Regions from separate parts of the Homo sapiens genome. Here regions 1, 2, 4, 5, 6 and 7 are each linked to region 3. Evidence: promoter capture Hi-C in 16 types of primary human blood cells and fetal thymus (Javierre and others, 2016). All regions are on one chromosome and are shown on one strand. The core of a region is centred on a gene start or on the middle of the fragment in contact, and the rest is flanking DNA. Distances in the headings are between cores, read along the strand shown. Region 1 overlaps TBC1D1 (TBC1 domain family member 1). Region 2 overlaps TBC1D1 (TBC1 domain family member 1). Region 3 holds the start of ARAP2 (ArfGAP with RhoGAP domain, ankyrin repeat and PH domain 2). Region 4 overlaps TBC1D1 (TBC1 domain family member 1). Region 5 overlaps TBC1D1 (TBC1 domain family member 1). Region 6 has its middle 11 kb from the start of TBC1D1. Region 7 overlaps TBC1D1 (TBC1 domain family member 1).

The links. The method cuts DNA at HindIII sites, captures the fragments that hold promoters and counts their contacts. A CHiCAGO score of 5 or more calls a contact.
Region 1: a contact is called between a fragment that was not itself captured here and the fragment with the promoter of ARAP2 in region 3, in 1 of 17 cell types (M0 macrophages). The highest score is 7.9, in M0 macrophages.
Region 2: a contact is called between a fragment that was not itself captured here and the fragment with the promoter of ARAP2 in region 3, in 1 of 17 cell types (M2 macrophages). The highest score is 6.3, in M2 macrophages.
Region 4: a contact is called between a fragment that was not itself captured here and the fragment with the promoter of ARAP2 in region 3, in 1 of 17 cell types (M2 macrophages). The highest score is 5.9, in M2 macrophages.
Region 5: a fragment that was not itself captured here is called in contact with the fragment with the promoter of ARAP2 in region 3 in 1 of 17 cell types (M0 macrophages); the score reaches 6.6 in M0 macrophages.
Region 6: a contact is called between a fragment that was not itself captured here and the fragment with the promoter of ARAP2 in region 3, in 1 of 17 cell types (M2 macrophages). The highest score is 6.0, in M2 macrophages.
Region 7: a fragment that was not itself captured here is called in contact with the fragment with the promoter of ARAP2 in region 3 in 2 of 17 cell types (M0 macrophages and M2 macrophages); the score reaches 8.1 in M0 macrophages.

Annotation. Positions count from the first base shown.
Region 1 is chr4:37,903,043-37,905,742 of GRCh38, forward strand. The region is part of intron 2 of TBC1D1 (TBC1 domain family member 1); the gene reads left to right. Among named protein-coding and RNA genes, the nearest start is that of TBC1D1, 13 kb to the left of the region's middle. The HindIII fragment of the contact is 1,716 bases long and covers 502-2,217 here.
Region 2 is chr4:37,989,071-37,991,891 of GRCh38, forward strand. The region is part of intron 2 of TBC1D1 (TBC1 domain family member 1); the gene reads left to right. Among named protein-coding and RNA genes, the nearest start is that of PTTG2, 30 kb to the left of the region's middle. The HindIII fragment of the contact is 6,203 bases long and covers 1-2,821 here.
Region 3 is chr4:36,243,109-36,245,808 of GRCh38, forward strand. ARAP2 (ArfGAP with RhoGAP domain, ankyrin repeat and PH domain 2) reads right to left here and starts at 1,406. Exons shown (of 33, transcript NM_015230.4): 1 at 1,071-1,406. It overlaps LOC439933 (a long non-coding RNA gene), which reads left to right and starts at 1,008. Exons shown (of 5, transcript NR_122079.1): 1 at 1,008-1,103; 2 at 2,064-2,202. RefSeq lists a silencer at 1,202-1,781. The HindIII fragment of the contact is 5,605 bases long and covers 269-2,700 here.
Region 4 is chr4:38,119,445-38,122,144 of GRCh38, forward strand. The region is part of intron 19 of TBC1D1 (TBC1 domain family member 1); the gene reads left to right. Among named protein-coding and RNA genes, the nearest start is that of PTTG2, 160 kb to the left of the region's middle. The HindIII fragment of the contact is 2,340 bases long and covers 169-2,508 here.
Region 5 is chr4:38,008,151-38,010,850 of GRCh38, forward strand. The region is part of intron 2 of TBC1D1 (TBC1 domain family member 1); the gene reads left to right. Among named protein-coding and RNA genes, the nearest start is that of PTTG2, 49 kb to the left of the region's middle. The HindIII fragment of the contact is 5,234 bases long and covers 1-2,700 here.
Region 6 is chr4:37,879,006-37,881,705 of GRCh38, forward strand. No RefSeq gene overlaps it. Among named protein-coding and RNA genes, the nearest start is that of TBC1D1, 11 kb to the right of the region's middle. RefSeq lists an enhancer at 2,283-2,700. The HindIII fragment of the contact is 2,866 bases long and covers 1-2,700 here.
Region 7 is chr4:37,969,758-37,972,457 of GRCh38, forward strand. All of the region lies in intron 2 of TBC1D1 (TBC1 domain family member 1), which reads left to right. Among named protein-coding and RNA genes, the nearest start is that of PTTG2, 11 kb to the left of the region's middle. The HindIII fragment of the contact is 1,183 bases long and covers 833-2,015 here.

The DNA.
Region 1 (2,700 bases), core at 110-2,609, 1.7 Mb after region 3:
CTACTGGCCAGTTTCCCAAGGCATAATGTTCACTTAGGCAAAGGTCATTGATAAGAACGCTGGATATGCATCTAAGTTTTGATGCGATCAGGGGTTCTTTGTGTTTTTTTCTTTCGCAAACCTCAGGTCAGATCTGATTAGCTTGTTATTATCACATGATATGGCTGAAAAAAAATGTGAGACATGGTAAAAGTTCTGCTCTTTCCTCGTTCATTTGTGCTTGCTTTGTTATTAGCATTCGTTGTAGCTCTGGGCAGGACTCATTTGAAGATGCTTGCCCATTTTATGAGGATTAGCTTAGATAAAATTGAAAATATAATGCAAATAGCAACTTTCTCAGTTGGGCTCAGGGCTCCACAGCTAACCCCATGGACTGTGGAGTCTTGCCGTTGTTTTGGGTGCCAAGCAAGCCAAGTCACATGTGATTCAAGCTGTCTGCCACATGTACAGGGCGAGGATGCGAGTGTCAATCCACCTGTTAACTGTCAGTGAAGCCTTGAAAGCTTCTCATATTTTCAAGGTTAAAATCTGGATAGAAATGCTAAAGTTTTCTCTCTGCACTCCATTAGGTTATTTTATGTACTCTCTAGGGTGTAAGGACCTTATTTAGAAATTAATATTCTTGGTATCAAGTAGATGCCCTTTTGCTTGTTCATTTGTTGGTTCTTCTAGTCATTCAGAATTGCTGTTGCAGGTACTGTTGGAGATGATATTAGCAGAGGCTTGTAGGAAGGCAGGAGCATCAGTGGGGAATAGGACCAGGTGATCTATGTATAGGACATAATGGAAGGACTGAGAAGGGAGCCTAACACACACCCAAAGGGTAGAGAAGGCTTTGTGAAATAAAGGCTAATATGGAGCTCAAAACCACCATTTCACTCACAGAATCAAACTCTCATATTATAAATCATTTCATGTTATTGTCCACACATCTCAAGTGGGCACGGCAGCATCAGGCTTGGAGATTCAGAGGGACTAACTTCCTGTACTCTAATCCTACTTCTGCACCCATAAACTGGGTGGCCTCAGGCAATTGAGTCTGTTTTCTTATCTGTTAAATGGGGATAATTACAGTATTTATCCAATAGAGTTGCTGGAAAGACTAAATGAGGTAGCACTCGACCTGAAACTTAGTAAGCATTTATAGCCATAAAAACATTTTCATTCAAGAAAATTTTACTAGAGGCAGATTATATGCTAATTTCATTTCACGTCTTAGGTAAAAAGAAACATGATACCTAGATGAGTGCCTTCAGCTTTCAAAGATGAGATTCTGGTCATATTTGAGGAACATTTTAAAAACTACACGTATAACTTAATGGCTCCTATTATTTGGACAAATTCCAGAATGAAAATGAGAGGACTGAACAGCCTGTACCTCAGTCCAGCTCTATATAGTATTTGGACTGAATTTCCTTGGGGAGAGTTTGTGCGTGGAATCGTTGTTCAGCATTTTACACATTTGACTCTTTCCCAAAATCTTTTACGGCCATCTGAGAATAGGCTTCTGGCCAGTCATTCGGATGCCTGACAAGAGAAAGAGATTTATAACCAAATTCTGTAATTGGGACTTCCAGTCTTTCCCCAAGTAGAGAATTGGACTTACTCTATATGCTAAAAACCCATGGTTGAAATATGAATTAGTTCTTAAGTGATTTTTGGCTTGCATACCATTTTTGCAAACACAAATTGTCATTACTCTGCTCATTTAATAAAAGAATAATTTGTAGTATAGGTATATACCTCAATCAGTGATTTTGTTGTTGGAAACAGAACAGTAAATCACACTGGCCATGATGCTAACAGCGTGATAGATTTTCTGTTCTTGGGACACCAATGTCACTGTATCTCATAGCGAAGGATTATCTGCTGTAGGAGCATTCTCTTGACTACTTATAACATTTGCTGGGTGAAATAATTCTCCAGGTTAAGGCCTCTTCTAAACAGATGAGGTCAGCACTAACTGCATTTGCCAGAGAAGACATATGCATTTACTGCCAGCATCATAAACACAAAACTACAGTTTGCGAGGAAACCCTTTGACCAGCATCTAATTAATTCACTGAGTAATGTCTTGGGAGAAGAGGCATGTAAAGGAACAATTTTATAAGCATGCCATGAGATTGTTTTCTATTGTATGTTCCATAGAATATGAGGAAACTTCAAAACATTTTGTGGAAAAATTGAATTAAAAAGTAAAAAACACATATATACATAAGCTTTATTTCTCAAGATAAACTTTATCAAGTTCAAGACACTTTTGTAAGCAATGTTAACAGCCATTGAGTCGGTCTCTAAAGAACTGAGGGTCCTGGGAATTTAACCATGTTTATACAGTCTTTTATACATTATTAACTGGAGAAAAATTGGCGCTCTTTAAAGATTTTTTAAAATTGAGAAGCAAAAGGACGTCAGAAGGAGCCAAATTAGGCCTGTAAGGTGGATGCCTAATGATTTCCCATGGAAACTCTTGCAAAATTGCTCCTGTTTGATGAGAGGAATGAGCAGGAACATTGTCATGGTGGACAAGGACTCTGGTGAAGCTTTCCCAGGCGATTTTCTGCTAAAGCTTTGGCTAACTTTCTCAAAACACTCTCATGATAAACAGATGTTATCATTCTTTGGCCCTCCAGAAAGTCAACAAACAAAATGCCTTGGGCATCCCAAAAAACTATTGCAACCATTTGCCCTTGACCAGTC
Region 2 (2,821 bases), core at 154-2,653, 1.7 Mb after region 3:
GGAAAATCTACTTTCTCTAAAGAATCCTCTTCACTTTCCAGATCTTTTCCTTGAACCAGGAGAGAATTAACTAAGAGTCTGGCACATTTTTTGTTAGGTCTGATAAGATCTCTGAAGCCTGCTACCTGGAGGCCTCATCTGCATGATAAAAACCTTGGTCTTCACCCAGGTTATGACCTTGTCTTAACCTACACACTTATTTCTATTGATTCCAGATCTTTAGATAATAACGCTTTCAACTAATTGCCACTCAGAAAATATTTGAATCCACCTATGACTTGCAACCTCCCCTCCACCTTCAAGTTGTCCCACCTTTCCAGACCAAACCAATGTACACCTTACATATATTGATTGATGTCTTATGTCTCCCTAAAATGTATAAAGCAAGCTATAGCCCCGACCACCTTGAGCACGTGTTCTCAGGACCTCCTGGGGTTGTGTCATGGGTCGTGGTCCTCACATCTGGCTCAGAATAAATCTCTTTAAATGTTTTACGGAGATTGATTCTTTTTGCTGACACTAATATTTAGATTCTTTCTGTTGTTCTAGCACATTCTGCATGAATTAAACATAAACCCTGTTCCCTAGTACAGAACAAGAGCAAACTGCTTTCTTTAGGCCACAAGTAACTTAGATCAGTTAAGGGGAAAATGGGGGAGAGAGGAGGACATTGGCTTCTGCCACCAGCAGCCTGTGTGACCTTGCCCAAGGTCACAACTCTGTGGGGTTAGTTCCCCTTCCCTGAAATAGGTGTAGGGAGGGACTCCTTGACAGTTTCTGGTTTTTTTCGTCTCTCAGAGTGCAATGAAGAATTTCTTCATGGCTAAGGCTGTTAGACTCCAGAAAATAGTTTGCCAACCAAAGACACAGAGTTTCCAATTTTGGAATACTTTAAAAATAGGAAGGAAGTTTATTTGTTTAGCAGAATTTATAATTGTAGGACTGCCCAAGGCAGAGAATTAGCCAAGTGGTATTTTGCGGAAGTTCTTTTTAAAGGGTGGGCCCAAAGGAAACCAGTCATTAGGTGGAAATAAACTGTCAGATTTTTGAGACGTTATTTGCTTAGGGACATTTACACTGGTCTATTGTGACAGTCTCTATTGTGTTAGGCTTTTAAAAGAAATATGTAAGTTTCCAAGTTTAAAATGTTAGAGCAAGTGTCCAGTCCACGGCCTGTGGGCTACATACAGGCCAGGATGGTTTTGAATGTGGCCCAAAAAAGATTCATCAACTTTCTTAAAACATTGAGTTTTTTTTTTTTAAGCTAATCAACTATCATTAGTGTTAATGTATTTTATGTGTGGGCCAAGACAATTCTTCCAGTGTGGCCCAGGGAAGCCAAAAGATTGGATACCCCTGTATTAGAACTTGTAAAATTTGACTTCAGAAACACAACCAAAAGCCCGCTTATGAGTAAGGAGTTTGTGGCCCCTTGTGTACTGATTATTAATCAATTAATTGTATAATAAGCATGAAATATTGCTAGTACATCTAAGGCCAAAGCCTTCTTACGGTTCCAGAAAAAGCTGTATTCCTGAATTTCCAGGTGAAGGGAAGGGATTCTCCTTCCATTTCCAGAAATATGTGAATATAATACATAGGGATTTTTATCACACTAGTGTTTCAGTAAAAGCAGCCCTTCAAGTCTGTGCCATCCAGTTTTGGTGTAACTGAAAGAACATCGTACCAAAGTTTGATTTTTGTCAATTCTCTAGTGTGTTAATCAGCTGAGAATGTGGTCTCTGGATATTTTTCCCCAAGGAAAGAGCTGGATGTACTAGACCACCAGACCACACAACTCTGTATTTGTTTTGCAATAACTACACTATTTGGGGGAGTAGTGTGGTGTTTCCAGACGTTCTTGGTCAAGAAATCTGGCCGCTTCAAGCTCAGTGTTGATCACAATCTATTTCTTTTGCCTCTACTCTGTGGCAGGCACTTGAGACACAACTGCCAAGATGAGAGAGACCCAGCTGCTGACCTGGGGCGGGGGTGGGTGGGGGGAAGGTGGTGAAGGCAGTCACAGAGTCAGCCTGCCAGAAAGCAGGTGGGGAACTGTAAACCTCTGAGTAGCCCCTTGGTATACAGAGGTAATAATTTCCCAAATGTAGTAAATCCCACTTTACAACCTCACGGTTAATTTTGATCAGGGATAAGTAGAACTGACTATACACTGTTAACTTAGATATTGTCCTTCTCAAAAACATCATTTTTATTCTGGGTGCCAGAGATTTGGCTTGGGTGTGGGTGTTAAGAACAGTCCACAGTGTCCTGGAGTACCTCTCCGCTGATCTGGGGGCTCTTTAAACCTCTCTAACAAGTTTTTGTGCTAATCCTGACTGAGTAGATGGAGGCAGTGGAGCCCAGCTGGCCTGTCACTATGGGGCAGAGGGTGACTCTACCCTCAAGCCCTGCATGAAGACCCCAGGGTGGGCACCACAGCCCTTTACAGTCACTTAGCACCTGCTGCTGAACACGAGCATGCAGACCTGGTAAGGCTTGTGAGTTTCAGAGAATTCCTGCAAGTCCCTGGAAATGTGGGCACTGGCAGCTCTTCTCTCTCTTTTTTTTTTTTAAATTTAGTGGGCTTAGAGGTTTTAGCCTAATAAGGAAATTTTACACTGGACGATTTTATCCCAAATAAAAGCAAATCATAGGGACCCAGTGTTGCCTAAAAAACCAGTCCTTACTGGGGAGGTCTAGTTGTGTCTAGCCTGGCTCTGTGACCAGATGCCAGCCATTCCAGCCTCCTGTGGCTGCATTTCATCCCGAAAGTGAATAAGGTGAGTGAGTGATTCAAAGGTCCCATCCAGGGGGTGAC
Region 3 (2,700 bases), core at 156-2,655:
TTAAAGGTATTTCTCTTTTTTTCCTTAAAAAAAGTTAGCTTGCTTTTTATCTTCCAATTACTTACGGGCAAAGTTCCATGGGCCTGTGGGGGTGTAGAGTGCTTAAGTGCAGATAAATCAATACTGAGCTTGTAAGTACAATACTATTATGAGTAATAACAATGACATCCTATTAAATGTACTTTTAAAAATAGCTTATTTTCAATACACTTCTTGATTTTTTTTAAACCGAAGGCTGTATTCTACTGAACAGCCTACTTCAAGGACAAGCTTGCAAAAAAAAAAAAAAAAAAAAAAAGAATTTGCTATCAGGATACCTACTTACAACACCCTAAGATGTCATTATTCCACACAAATTAGCTTATTTTCTTGTGTTTTCCTCTAATTATCAAAGGCTATATAATCCACGAACCCTTTCCCCAAATCAAAATAACTCCAGATCACCTCAAGGTAGGAGGTGTTTAAGAAAACAAGCCAGAATTAGATAAAGTAAAACTTACTTTATTAAATAGGATGGACACCACTTCTCCCAAGAGAACTGTCTCCAAAAGTAAACAAGAAAGATCAATCTGGTAAACTCACATCATACAGGTTCCCGTGTAAGGTATCGGGTTCAGGCAGGTGGAAGCCAAATGATCGTAATTAAAGTTAATTAACAGGCCAGTCGTCTTAACGTGGTTAACAAGCAGGGTGCGGGGCAGCACAGACACCCGGGCAAATTCATGATCTCTACCGAGTAAATAACTTGGTGCCTGAAACTCACTACAGCTTCTTCTTATTTAAAGGTAGGGGAGAGGAATGGAGGGAGTGTCCAGCTGTCTATCCGGATCCTCACCCTCCCGGGTCAAATCCCAGAAGTGGAGTTCTTGGATCACTTACCGGCTTCTGGTTTCCTTTCAGACGCCCACACGCGGGAGCGAAATCCAAGGGGCGGACACCAGAGCCGAGCACTTTGCGCTGAGGAAATTTACCCGGTGAAGTGTCGAAAAGCCCCAGCCCCTCCAGACAGGGTCCTCCCACCCCCGCGTGGGCCATCCCGGCCCAGCCTTCCCGAGGCCCCGGGTACTCGCCTTGCGCTCGGGTCGCGGAGTTCGAAAAGCGAGGTGAGGCGGCGCTGGGAAGCTCAGCGCCGGCGTCTCTCCCAGCCTTGGGCGCTCGGTCCTCGCCCCTCTGCCGGAGGCGCCAGGCCTCCTCTTTCCCGGTCCCCGCCGGCTGTCCGCAGTCGCCTCTGCTGCCTGGCGGCGGCCGCGCGGGCGGCGCTGTTAGTGGGGCCGGCGTGTCGCGGCCGCCGCACCTGGAGGCGGGGAGCGCGGGCCGCGGACCCGCGCTCAGCTCCGGAAACGCCGAGCCCGGCGCCCGCGCCTTGCTCAGGTGCTCCCGCGCCTCGCCTCGGCCGCCGCTTCCTCTCCGCCCGCGGGGGCGGGGAGCAGGCGCCCCGCGCGGGGGAAGCCGGAGCTCAACGGCGGGGGCGGCCCAGCCGGCCTCCCTGGTTCCGCAGCATAGTTGGGTGACTGACTCAGACCGCCGCGACTTGGCCGCGCCTGGCACCCTCGCCACCTGGCGCACCTCGGCCCGGAGGCGTCAGACCCCGCTGGGGAAGCTGCGGGGGCGCGCCCTGGAGCCCAGAGCGACAGGGGCATTACCCACCTTCCCGGGACGGAGATGCCCAGGACCTTGTGTTGGCTCCTCCTGGCCAGTGGGTTTGTCTGTGCGCACTCATGGGGGGTTGAATGTCAAATGGGCGGAACCTCGCCACGACTGATTATTAGTATTACTCTTCCAAGTACTTAAAGTGTTAGCTCAGCGTTTCCCAAACTGAAGACTCATCTAGGGCACTATTTTCCCCAGGCTGCTTCTATGTAAATTTGCTCCTTCTTGCACCTGTGGCGGTTAGATCCCAGAGGGGCATTTCCCCTTTGAGTTGGACTCTGACAAAGGAGGCAGCGAAGGAAAATAGGGGATCCCAAAGAACCCTTGTGGACCTCCAAATATCTAAGCGTCCGTAAAATCCAGTTATTTGCAAGTGAGTTCACAGACCAACTACTTTTTTTTTTTTTTTTTAGACAGGGTCTCACTTTGTCACCCAGGCTGGAGTGTAGTGAGGCAATCTCAGCTCATTGCGCCTCCGCCTCTGGGTCCAAGCTATCCTCCCACGTCAGCCTCCCAGGTAGCTGGGATTACAGGCGCGCACCATCAGCCAAGGTAATTTTTTTTGTATTTTTGGTATAGACGGAGTTTCGCCTTGTTGCCCAGGCTGGTCTCAAACTCCTGACCTCAAGTGATCCACCTGCCTCGGCCTCCCAAAGTGCTGGGATTACAGGCGTGAGACACTGCCCCCTACCAGCTTTTTTTTTTTTTTTTATAAACATCTCCCACAGACTACCTGAAATTCTCTTCATTAAAAGGTGAAATGTATTTATCTTTCCCCTGTTCCTGTTGATGGAAGTGAAGCAATTAAGGAAAGCGCAGACCTTATGAAAATGAGATAATTGGTGAAGTGCGGAAAGAGAGAGGCTTCCCACAAGCCTGGGCCCTTAGGATTCTTCAGTCATCACCTTCACCCACACTAACTACCTGCCCAAAGCACCGTCTTTCCCTGGGGAGACTCTGAAGCAGCTCTGTCTTACTAGAGACACCAAATATCCAGTTCCTTTTGAACTTAATACCTCATAGCCGACCTCATTTCCACCAGGAAAGTTT
Region 4 (2,700 bases), core at 89-2,588, 1.9 Mb after region 3:
AATAGATACAAAAAGCTATCTCCTGGTTGAGCATATCTTTAGTGAGAGTTCATGAAGGTTTATACCATGGTTAAAAAAAAAAAAAGATTAACTAAAAGCCTCAAAATTGTGTGCTTAGTTTATTAACAAAAGAGTTACAGAAACTAAAATCTCAAGCTCTAGGCTTTAAGCTTTCTTGCCAATAACTTCTATGTTTTTGACTTCTCTAACACTGGAAATTAAAAGAAAATTATTAATCTACCTTCCTTACATTTTCTCCACATTTTAGCTATGATTTTCATACAGGGTCATGAAGAGGAGTGAGGATGGAAATGGGGAGGAGGGAGCGCTGTTTGTTAATGGTTTGTAAACAGCTCAGGCATTAAATTACTTGGTTAGTGAAGAAAATTCTACCAAGGCAACCAGGCTGACCACAGACTGGAGGGCTGAGGGGTCATCACTGAGTCATCTCTGCCCTGGGGCCCCAGGCACTGGAGCTGCTGCTTGCAGAAAGTTCTGGGGCTCTGGAAGAGAAATTTTTCCTTCGGCTCATAAATGGGTAAAAAGACGTTAACAAACAAGCAGACTCCACTTTGGAAATGATAGCCCTTCTATTGCAGAGTAATTTGAAGCTCTCTGAAGCTCACTCTAATGACTTCATAAATCAAAGCTGCAGCTTGTAAAGGTAAGATATTTTTCTGTAGACTTTGTAGGCAGTGGTGAGACTCGGAGTTTCATAAACATTATGCATAGAGATGCCAGTGTCTACATCATTCCTGGATCCCACAGACTCCTGCTGTGCTAAGTGGGTCGTTGTCCAGCTGGCCAAGGGCTCCTGGGATTAGAGGCGGGAAGTGGGATCTCAAGGCCGCACTGGCTTGTGATGTCACTTTGCAAGAACTGCTTTTTTTTCCACAGTCCATCCCATCTTTCAGTACTTAAAAACAGAAAAGATAGGTTTTTACAAACCATTTCTATTTTTAGCACTGATGACTTAGAGAATGGTGATGGAGATAGCTTAGTTTTATATTTCAAAGCCTGCCATTCAGTCACTATAGTCTTTTTTGGCCTAGGGCCCATTTCATTATAAGCCTTTAAGTCTGGATAAACTCTAAAAACATGTAGAACTTTGTTGACTAAGTAAAATATTTCAGTTTGCACCACCTTAGCTCATATATTAGTTAATAGGTTACCTGGCATTAAGTATGTATCTGCTCCTTGGAGGGGCGGCTGCCAGTGATGTGTGCGCCTTAACCTTCACATGATACTCACACCTTGCTGAATGGCAGTTCTTCTACCTGGTGTCACATAATGTCAATAGCCCCTTCCTGTATTTTTCTAGCTTGAGTACAGCAGGGCCCTGGGAGAGACGCTTGCTCTGTTCACTTTCTCATCACATCTACCTTTGGGGGAAGAAAAATCTAAAAAACAGGACCTGGCTTGCTCCTGATGGAGGAGGAGGCTGCAGTGTTCAGCCTCTGATGTTTTTCTATAGGACATGCTGCCAAATAGATGAGGGAGGAGGAGGAGTATAAAAACTAAGGGTTTGGCAAAAAACACAGAAGCCACCTGCAATATAGTGAAGGCTTCAGAGAGACTTTAGGATGAAAATAGACTGAAAACAAGATTGTTTCTGTGGCCAGGAAAATCTCCAGCTATTCAGGTGACATGATGCCGCGTGATGATGAGTGTGTCCAGTCTGTCTGTGCTGTTGTTCTGCACAGCACTGTCATCAGCCTTCAGCGTCCCCTTTACCCGTTACTCATAGAATGTAGCGGAGCCACGACTGGAGGACCGCAGCCTTCCAGAAGAAAGTTGAGAAGGCTCAGCCTTGACAAAGACAAAGGTGGCTGGAAAAAGAGATGCAGTGCAAGCTCACATAGGAAGATTGCACTTTGAGATCATGAAGTTTAGTTTCAAATAGAGTTCCAATACACAGTAACGCAATAAGAGGGTTGCTGAAATGTCCTCAAAGAAAAGCAGTTCCTTTGTGTTGTTCCCAGCGAATACAGTGCAAAGTAATAGAGTCAGCTGAATTTAAGATTCCTATTTCCTGCCGGATAAAACGTCTTGCCTGTTTCTAGGTGGCTTGAAAAAGGAGAGGAGAGAAGGAAGAGGCAGGAGAAAAGTCCCACTGAAAGGACGTGGGCTACAGTGTAGTGAGCTAGGCTACTGCCTCACTGCGCTGGGCGGCTCCAACAGTTCACTGTCTCCTAGGGAGGTTTTCAAATGCAGGACATTTGCTCACTTTTCCAAGGAGAGTTATTGTTTTTTTGTTTTGTTTTGTTTTGTTTTGTTTTAAAAAATTCCAGAATGTAAATGTATAAGATACCGGAAGACAGGCAAAATAAAAATAATTGGTTTGGGGCAGTGGGTTTATAGGTAACATTTTTCTTTACTATTGTTTTAAAATTAGATGTGATTTAAAAAAATTTCCAAAGCCAAAAAACGGTACAAATGCTTTAAAGGATGAAGATGTTGTCCCCAAGTGTCATCAGACAAATTTAGGAGGCCCTTCCTCCCAAGCAAAGCTTCCTGCAGTCCTTCCTTCAACTCTGAATTCAAGCACATTCCTGCATTGTGCACCCAAATGATCTCCCGATTTAAGACCCCCTGTGTCTCACAGAAGCTTCTGGGGCTGAACTTTCTCCGGCCTTGGAGGGTTGGACGCTTTGAATGGGAGGAGTGGTGGTGAGTGGAGCATCTCTGGCAGCAGGCATT
Region 5 (2,700 bases), core at 59-2,558, 1.8 Mb after region 3:
CAGTGATTCCATGAAGTCTATCTATATTTATGCTGGCCACCCAACATTTTAAGTTTTAAAAACTATTTTAGAAAACCTACGAAATAATTTCGTATCCTTACAGTGCAATCTTCCTTTTTCTTTCTCACCTCCTCCCACCCTCTTTTAGCTCCTACAGCCATTCGATTACTTCTTTTGTGGTTTCATAGTTTTAAATGTTTGTAGAAAGGTGTTGGTCAGTCAGAAGGTTGTAGTGAATCTTTTAAACAATTATTTTGGAGTACAAACTATGTTTTGTGTTTGCATAGACCATCTCTGTGGGGTTTAAAAGCTACTAACAGCTTATCCAATTTGCCATTTCACAACCAGGGAAGCTGAATAATGCTACTTCTTTTTTACATGGGATGAAAGATCAAGACCCAAAGGACAGAAAGATAAGGCAGAGGGGATGAAAAAGGGGCCCCTGTGTCAGGGGCTAACAGTCATTAGCACTTCACCTATGCCCAGATGCCTCCTCAGCCAGCTAACAGGGACACCTGATCACTCCTTGGCAAGATGTAACACATTAATCTGACCTGTTGTCTAATTGTAAGCATGAAGCAGGCATTGAGGCATTAGATCACCACAGCATGAAGCAAAAGAGCCAAGACAGACCACTGCACAGGAGCGGCCTTCTGTGCCTTCGCCCATGTTTGTGTTCTGGCACCTGTCACCTTATATTGGAAATCACATATGCGTGAGCCTCCTAAAGTCAGAGGGAATCATGTCTTACTCATTGTAGGAGGCATATTCAAATCTTCATGATTGAATCTAGTCCTGTCAGGCTGAGCTGCTGCATAATATGAATGTTTACCTGTGTCCTATCTAGATAGCAACTGATGGTATTTTCTGTTTAAATGATTTAAGTAATAGGCACTCATATTTTCTCAAGTGTTTTGCATGAAATTTAAGGCATGTAAGATAGAGTGAGGAAATACTTGGTTTAATTTAGTTTTTACCCCCTTCCTTTATACCTTACGACCAACAAATACAAATAACTGCTTGTCAATAAAAACAAGCCACAAATCTGTTCCTTCTGGACAATGATTACGTAGCATTTTTTTTGTGTGAAGTGCTCATTTGAACTCCTTACAATGAGAAAGCATTTCATCTAAGGGAAAAAACACAATGTGTCCGGCCATATTTTTGAAGTCTTAGAATGTGTTACCATCATATAACGGGAAAAATGCTAGAATTTTAAATACACAGTGCTTCAGACTTATTTAATATTTGTTTCTTACTTGTTGACAGAAAAACAAAGCAGCAAATGTAAAGTAAAATGACTTTTTATTCTAAATATTGTTTCAGGAGCTCTTTCCTAAATCCTTGTGAATAAAATTACACTTGCAGTGTATTTATAATCCTTTATAATCCCTAAATCCTTAAAAAGCAAGTTGACCCAAATGTTTAAATAAGGACTTTATTTACAGAACTGAATATTTCTAATTCTCTTGGGATGTCATTATCTGGCTACATATGAAACAGTATTCACTTATGCATGCTTCAGAAACTTCATACATTACTGTGCATTTGTTAGTATGTGAACAAAGAAACTTGTTTTGGTTGTGAGCAAAATGCAGACTTACTTTCAAAATTGAGTTTTAGTATAAACTCAAATAGGTTGGCAGAAGAGGAGTTTAATTTTTATGTATCTAAATAAGGCCTGTTTCTTCATTAAAAGAAAATTAAAACTAAGCCCCACACCCTTATTGAATCTGTCCCAATAAGATGCTTTTTGGGTTCTTGTTTGTGCTATAGTTGGTTTTGATTTACTTCGTCTGCAAACAGAAATGACGTAGATACTATTGCTCCAACAAAACTAAAAAAAGATTTTCACTAAAAGTACCCAGATCATATCAGTGGGAATAAATCCACTGGCCTCAGTGTATTTGCCCAAAAAGGATCTGTGTTTTGCAGTAAATATTGTAATTGGAAGTATATGTTCTTTTAGACTAAATAAAGTTTTACTTGAGGACATTTTTCAGTTAGGCATGTTTATTTTGGGGGTTTAGTATTGTCTTCCGCCTTATTTATTTTTACTTATCTGTATGAGCCAAAGCTCCAGCCAGCTCTCTCAGCCCTTATCCTGTTGTAAGTTGCTGACTCCTTTTCTTGAAGATGGAGTGTCCCCTTTCTGGGCGTCTCTAACCTCATCCTTGCCTCCCCCCAGGTCCCCATCTTCTCTGCCTGCGATTCCTTAGTTTCTCTACACCTGAAATGTTGGGGTATCCCAGGAGCCTGTCTTGGCACTCCCTTCCTTTACTTTCCCTCCCGGATGTGAGCTGCTCATGTCCAGCTTAGACTCCCTGTCTTGGACTCTAGGCCCACTTACCCAGCTAGATGCCTTTACTTTCAAGTCCTCCTGGTCTTAACATAGACAAAAGCAGAACTCATTGCACTGTCTCCCCAAACCTTCTCCACTCTGCACTCCCTCTGTGAACTAATGGCACAGTCATCCACACAGAAGCCTAAGCCAGAGCCCTGGGTACCACGCCCCATCTTCAATATCCTCAGCCCCCTATCCAGGTCACCACCAAATCCTGTTAGTCCTGTCTTCCAGAATCTTTCATTCAGCCTTTCTCTCAGCCTTCCTCTCAGCCTTCAGTGCTTAGTTCTTTCTCAGTTCAGGCTCTCAACATGCCCCATCTCAATTACCGTAAAGGATCCTAATTAAACCTCCTC
Region 6 (2,700 bases), core at 171-2,670, 1.6 Mb after region 3:
CTCCCTGGCAAAATGTTGACCATTTAAAGGAGGAAGAATGTTCCAAACTTTTCCTTAAAGCAATCATTGTAGTGTTTCTGCAGCAGCACAACCGCTGAATTCCTGAAGTCTTAATTTTCCAAAGATTGAAGGGTGTTTTGTTTTGTTGTGAGATGGAGTTTTGCTCTTGTTGCCCAGGCTGGAGTGCAATGCTCGATCTTGGCAATGCTCGATCTTGGCTCACTGCAACCTCCGCCGCCCAGGTTCAAGCAATTCTCCTGCCTCAACCTCCTGAGTAGCTGGGATTACAGGCATGCACCACCACACCCAGCTAATTTTTGTATTTTTAGTACAGACAGGGTTTCACCATGTTGGTCAGACTGGTCTGGAACTCCTGACCTCAGGTGATCCACCCTTCTCGGCCTCCCAAAGTGCTGGGATTATAGGCGTGAGCCACCGCGCCCAGCCAAGATTGAAGTTATTTGAATTTTTACCTGAAAGAAAACATCCTCTTGGGTTAGCTTCCTGTTCCCCACTACAGAAAGAGGAAGAGAAGAGAAGGCTACATGAAAGAGCTGATAGCATCCAGAGAAGGAAGAACAAGAGAGAATTACATCACTGAATAATGACAATGAGCATGATGTGCTATACTGCATGCCAGGTTCTGTTCCAAGTGTTTTACATTTACTAACTCATTAACCCTATCAACAACATAAGATAAGTACTATTATTTTTATTCCCGTCATCTTAAAGAGGGGACACATAGGCCGGGCGCGGTGACTCACGCCTCATCCCAGCACTTTGGGAGGCCGAGGCGGGCGGATCACAAGGTCAGGAGATCCAGACCACCCTGGCTAATACGGTGAAAGCCCATCTCTACTAAAAATACAAAAAATTAGCCGGGCGTGGTGGCGGGCGCCTGTGGTCCCAGCTACTCTGGAGGCTGAGGCAGGAGAATGGTGTGAACCCGGGAGGCGGAGCTTGCAGTGAGCCGAGGTCACGCCACTGCACTCCAGCCTGGGCGACAGAGCCAGACTCCGTCTCAAAAAAAAAAAAAAAAAAGCGGGGGGACACAGACACATAGACACACCAGAGTTCAGTGAAAATAACTTGTTCAAGTTCACATAGCCAGGAAGTGGTCTGAGACCATCCGATGCTGGTCAGTGAGACAGGTATGAGTTCTTCCTTTCAAGAAATGTTCAAATTTAAAGAGGCTTTAGCCTCTTGTGATTCCAGAACATTAAGGAGGGATTATGCACAGATTTATGGAGTCTTGTCACTGATTTCTCATGGGTGCTTAACCTAAGATCAAAGGTTCTCTGATGGTTCTGTGCATACACTCCAAGGGGTCAGTGAACTTGGGTGGAAAATAAAAATACATTTTTTAAGTTACTTCTAGCAGTTCTAATCACAATTTACATTTCTCTGCCTTTAAAAATTTAGGTGACAAACCATAATAGTATTATCACTCCCCATGACATTGTCATCAATAGAAATCATTGATTTTCATGTCACATTTCAGTTGTAACAAGTATCTCAGAATATCATATATTTTTATCACTCTCAAAATCATGGTAGTTATTATACCTGTGGGCAAATCTTGTTATTTAATACATTAATAATGATGTCCATATATTACAATATTATGCTTTTAAAAGTATATGTTGATGTCTGTATTTCCATATAATTGGTTACTTAAAGGAGAATTTTATATAATTGGCTATATAATTGGTTACTTAAAGGAGAACTTCTCTTAAAGGAGAATGTCATCCTACATTTTATATTTAGCAACAAAAGAATGAGAAGAAGGCTGAATGTCTGTACCCAGCCTTCCATATAATTTGTAGCCAATTACATGGAAATACAGATATCAACATATATTTTTAAAAGCATGATATCATAACATATGAACTTCATTATTAATGTATTTTATTTATTTTATTTTAGGCATTTACAAATATTATTCTGAGGAAGGTTCCATAGGCTTCATTACACAGGCAAAGGGATCTATACTATAAAAATAGTTAAAAACCTTTGCCCTAGAGCAGGGTTAGCAAATTATGTCCTGCTCGCCAAATCCGGCTACTTGTTTTTGTATGACCCATGAGCTAAGAATGGATTTTACATTTTTAAATGGTTGGAAAAATTTTTTTAAAGAATATTTCGTGACAATGTGAAAATGCATGAAATCCAAATTTCAGCGTCCATACTCACTAGAACACAGCCATACTCATTTGTCTGCATAGCGTTTGTGGCTGCTTTTGCACTGCAACAGACTTTTTTTTTTTTTTTTTTTCTTGAGACGGAGTCTCACCCTGTCGCCCAGGCTGGAGTGCAGTGGCGCAATCTCGGCTCACTGCAACCTCTGCCTCCCGGATTCAAGCAATTCTTCTGCCTCAGCCTCTTGAGTAGCTGGGACTACAGGCATGCGCCACCATGCCCGGCTAATTTTTGTATTTTTAGTAGACACGGGGTTTCGCCATATTGGCCAGGCTGGTCTCAAACTCCTGACCTCGTGATCCGCCCACCGTGGCCTCCCAAAGTGCTGGGATTACAGGTGTGAGCCACTGTTCCCGGCCACTGCTACAGATTTGAAAGGTGGGACAGAGATGGAATGTCCTGCAATGCCTAAAATATTTACTAAATGGGCTTTTAGTAGTTTGTCAACCCTGAATTAGAAGAGAGTAAGGATGCTGAAGACAAGGAAGCTGTCTCATATTT
Region 7 (2,700 bases), core at 174-2,673, 1.7 Mb after region 3:
AATTTACATTCTGTAACATTTTGGTATTTAGTAAATCCACAAATTTTGGTATTTAGTATATTAATGTAACCATCATCACCATCTAATTCCAAAACATTGTCATCACTGCAAAAAGAAACCCTGCACCCATTAGCAGTCTCTCCCTATTTTCTCCTCTCTCCAGCCCCCGGTAACTACTAGTCTATTTTCTGTCTCTATGGATTTGCCTGTTCTGGATATTTCATATAAATAGAATCATACAGTATGCAGTCTTTTGTAACTGGCTTATTTCAATTGGCATAGTGCTTTCAAGGTCCATCAGTGCTGTGGCATGTATCAGTACTTCATTACTTTTTATAGCCAAATAATATTCCATTGTGTGGATATACCATATCTTGTTGATCCATTCATCAGTTGAAGGGCAGCTGGGTTGTTTCCACTCTTGGGAGTTGTGCTGCTGTGCACATTCATGGACACATTTTTACATGGGCATATATGTTTTCAATTTATGCAGAGGGATTTTTAGTATTAGATTTTCAGGATTTGGTATTATCCTTGGCAAATATGGGTTTCTTTGGAAACAAATTTTTCTGTTTGTAAGAGATGATTGCATATCATCAAACTTACACTAACATTCCCTCTCCACTATGAAGCTCTGATTTCTGTCCTATCTCCTCCTATGCAAGGCCTGATTTCCAGAGAACGTTAATCTTCTAAGCCTTTCTCCATGCGGATCCTTCTTCCTGGAAAGCCCATTCCCTCTCCACCTTCTGTAAATGGCCTGAAACCAGCCAGGAAGCTGGGTTTTCCTTTGCAGCCTGAAGTTATTTTCCTTCCTCTGGGAACTCATCGAAGCTTCACCTGGACTTTGAGGGAAAATAACTTCAGGCTTTTGTCACTCTTTTCCCTGCCTGAGCTTCCCTGCTACCCTCTATGCCCCTTGAGGGCAGGATTCTGGTCTGACTCCATTTTGCTATTTCCTGCAAGGACTTCTGTGGCTTTCCAAAATAGGTGCTAATGAATATTCATATTTGTGAACTGAATTCCTGATCCATTGCCAAGTGGTTCTGATTCACTTGAAACCCAGTTGAACTTCCTTGTAGAGTTTGTATTACAATGGCTCTATTTTTAACCAGGTCTTAGGGTGGGGAGGAGCAAGCTGGCAGAGTGAGGTCATTCTTTTGCATGTGTCCCTGCCTCACTGGCCCCCCCCACTAGAGGGCAGCCTGCCTGGCATCACCTCCTAAACTTACAGGAGGTTTTGCCGCCCTTGCTTCTTGTTCCTCCTCAAAAGAAGAAATTGGCAGAAGAGCTGGGGCAGGAGTGTCAGGGTTTGTTTTGGTGGGGATATGGTCAGGCTTAGTAGGGAAGCAACTCTTCCAGTTCCCAGACCGGCCCCCCTGCCTTTCAAGTCCTCCGTTAATGTCTCAGGAGTGCTGAGATGGTGAGACATTAAAGCATCCTTTTAAAGTTACTTAGACAACAATTTGAGATTTCTGTAGGGATACTGTATTAGTCTATTCTTATGCTGTTAATAAAGACATACCTAAGACTGGGTAATTATAAAGGAAAGCGGTTTATTGACTCACAATTCCACGTGGCTGGGGAGGCCTCAAAATCATGGTAGAAGGCAAGAAGGAGCAAGTCACATCTTACACGGCAACAGACAGGAGAAGAATTGAGAGCCGAACAAAAAGGGTTTTGCCTTATAAAACCATCAGATCTCATGAGACTCATTCACTACCATGAGAACAGGATGAGGGAAATCACCCCCATGATTCAGTTATCTCCCACTGTGTCCCTCCCACAACTCATGGGAATTATGGGAGCTACAATTCAAGATGAGATTTGGGTGGGGACACAGCCAAACCATATCAGATACTATCGTGTTTAGATCTCTGCAGTCCTATTTGGATAGCCTATTGCTTTCCACAGAGCAACTATATATATATATTTTAAAGTAAAGGATCTAAAACTGTAAGAGTGGTTCTTGATCCTGGCTGATAATCAGAATCACTTGCTAGAATATATTTCTAAGCTTTAAGTAAACCCAGAGTCAACATTATGGGTCAACACCAATAATGACCTCTGTGGCTGAATTCAGTGGGCTGACACATTTGACTTGGCTAGGTGGAGTGTTTTAATAATTGAGAATGCATTCTCTAAGATGCTGTAGTTACTTCATTCTTTATCCTCTCACACCTTGCCCTCTTCACACATTTATATGACCTGCTTGCTCTTTGAGGTCTCTGAGAATTTGACCTTTGCTCCAAAACAGCCCAATCATCTGAGACCCTCTACTCTCTCTCTCACTTGGCCACCTTCCCATTACAGGTGACTCTGATAGACAATCAGGGCTGGAAACTATCAGTGTCTTTGAGCAATGACTATTCTGTCTGCAGAGGTTCTCAATTCTGACTGCATGAGAGAAACACCTTGGAGATGTTAAAAATTACTGATGCCTGGCTGGGTGCGGTGGTTCATGCCTGTCATCTCGCACTTTGGGAGGCTGAGGCGGGTGGATCACCTGAGGTAGGGAGTTTGAGAGTAGCCTGACCAACATGGAGAAGCCCTGTCTCTACTAAAAATACAAAATTAGCCAGGTGTGACAGTGCATGCCTATAATCTCAACTACTCAGGAGGCTGAGGCATGAGAATCACTTGAACCCAGGAGGCGGAGGTTGTGGTTAGCTGAGATCGTGCCATTGCACTCCAGCCTGG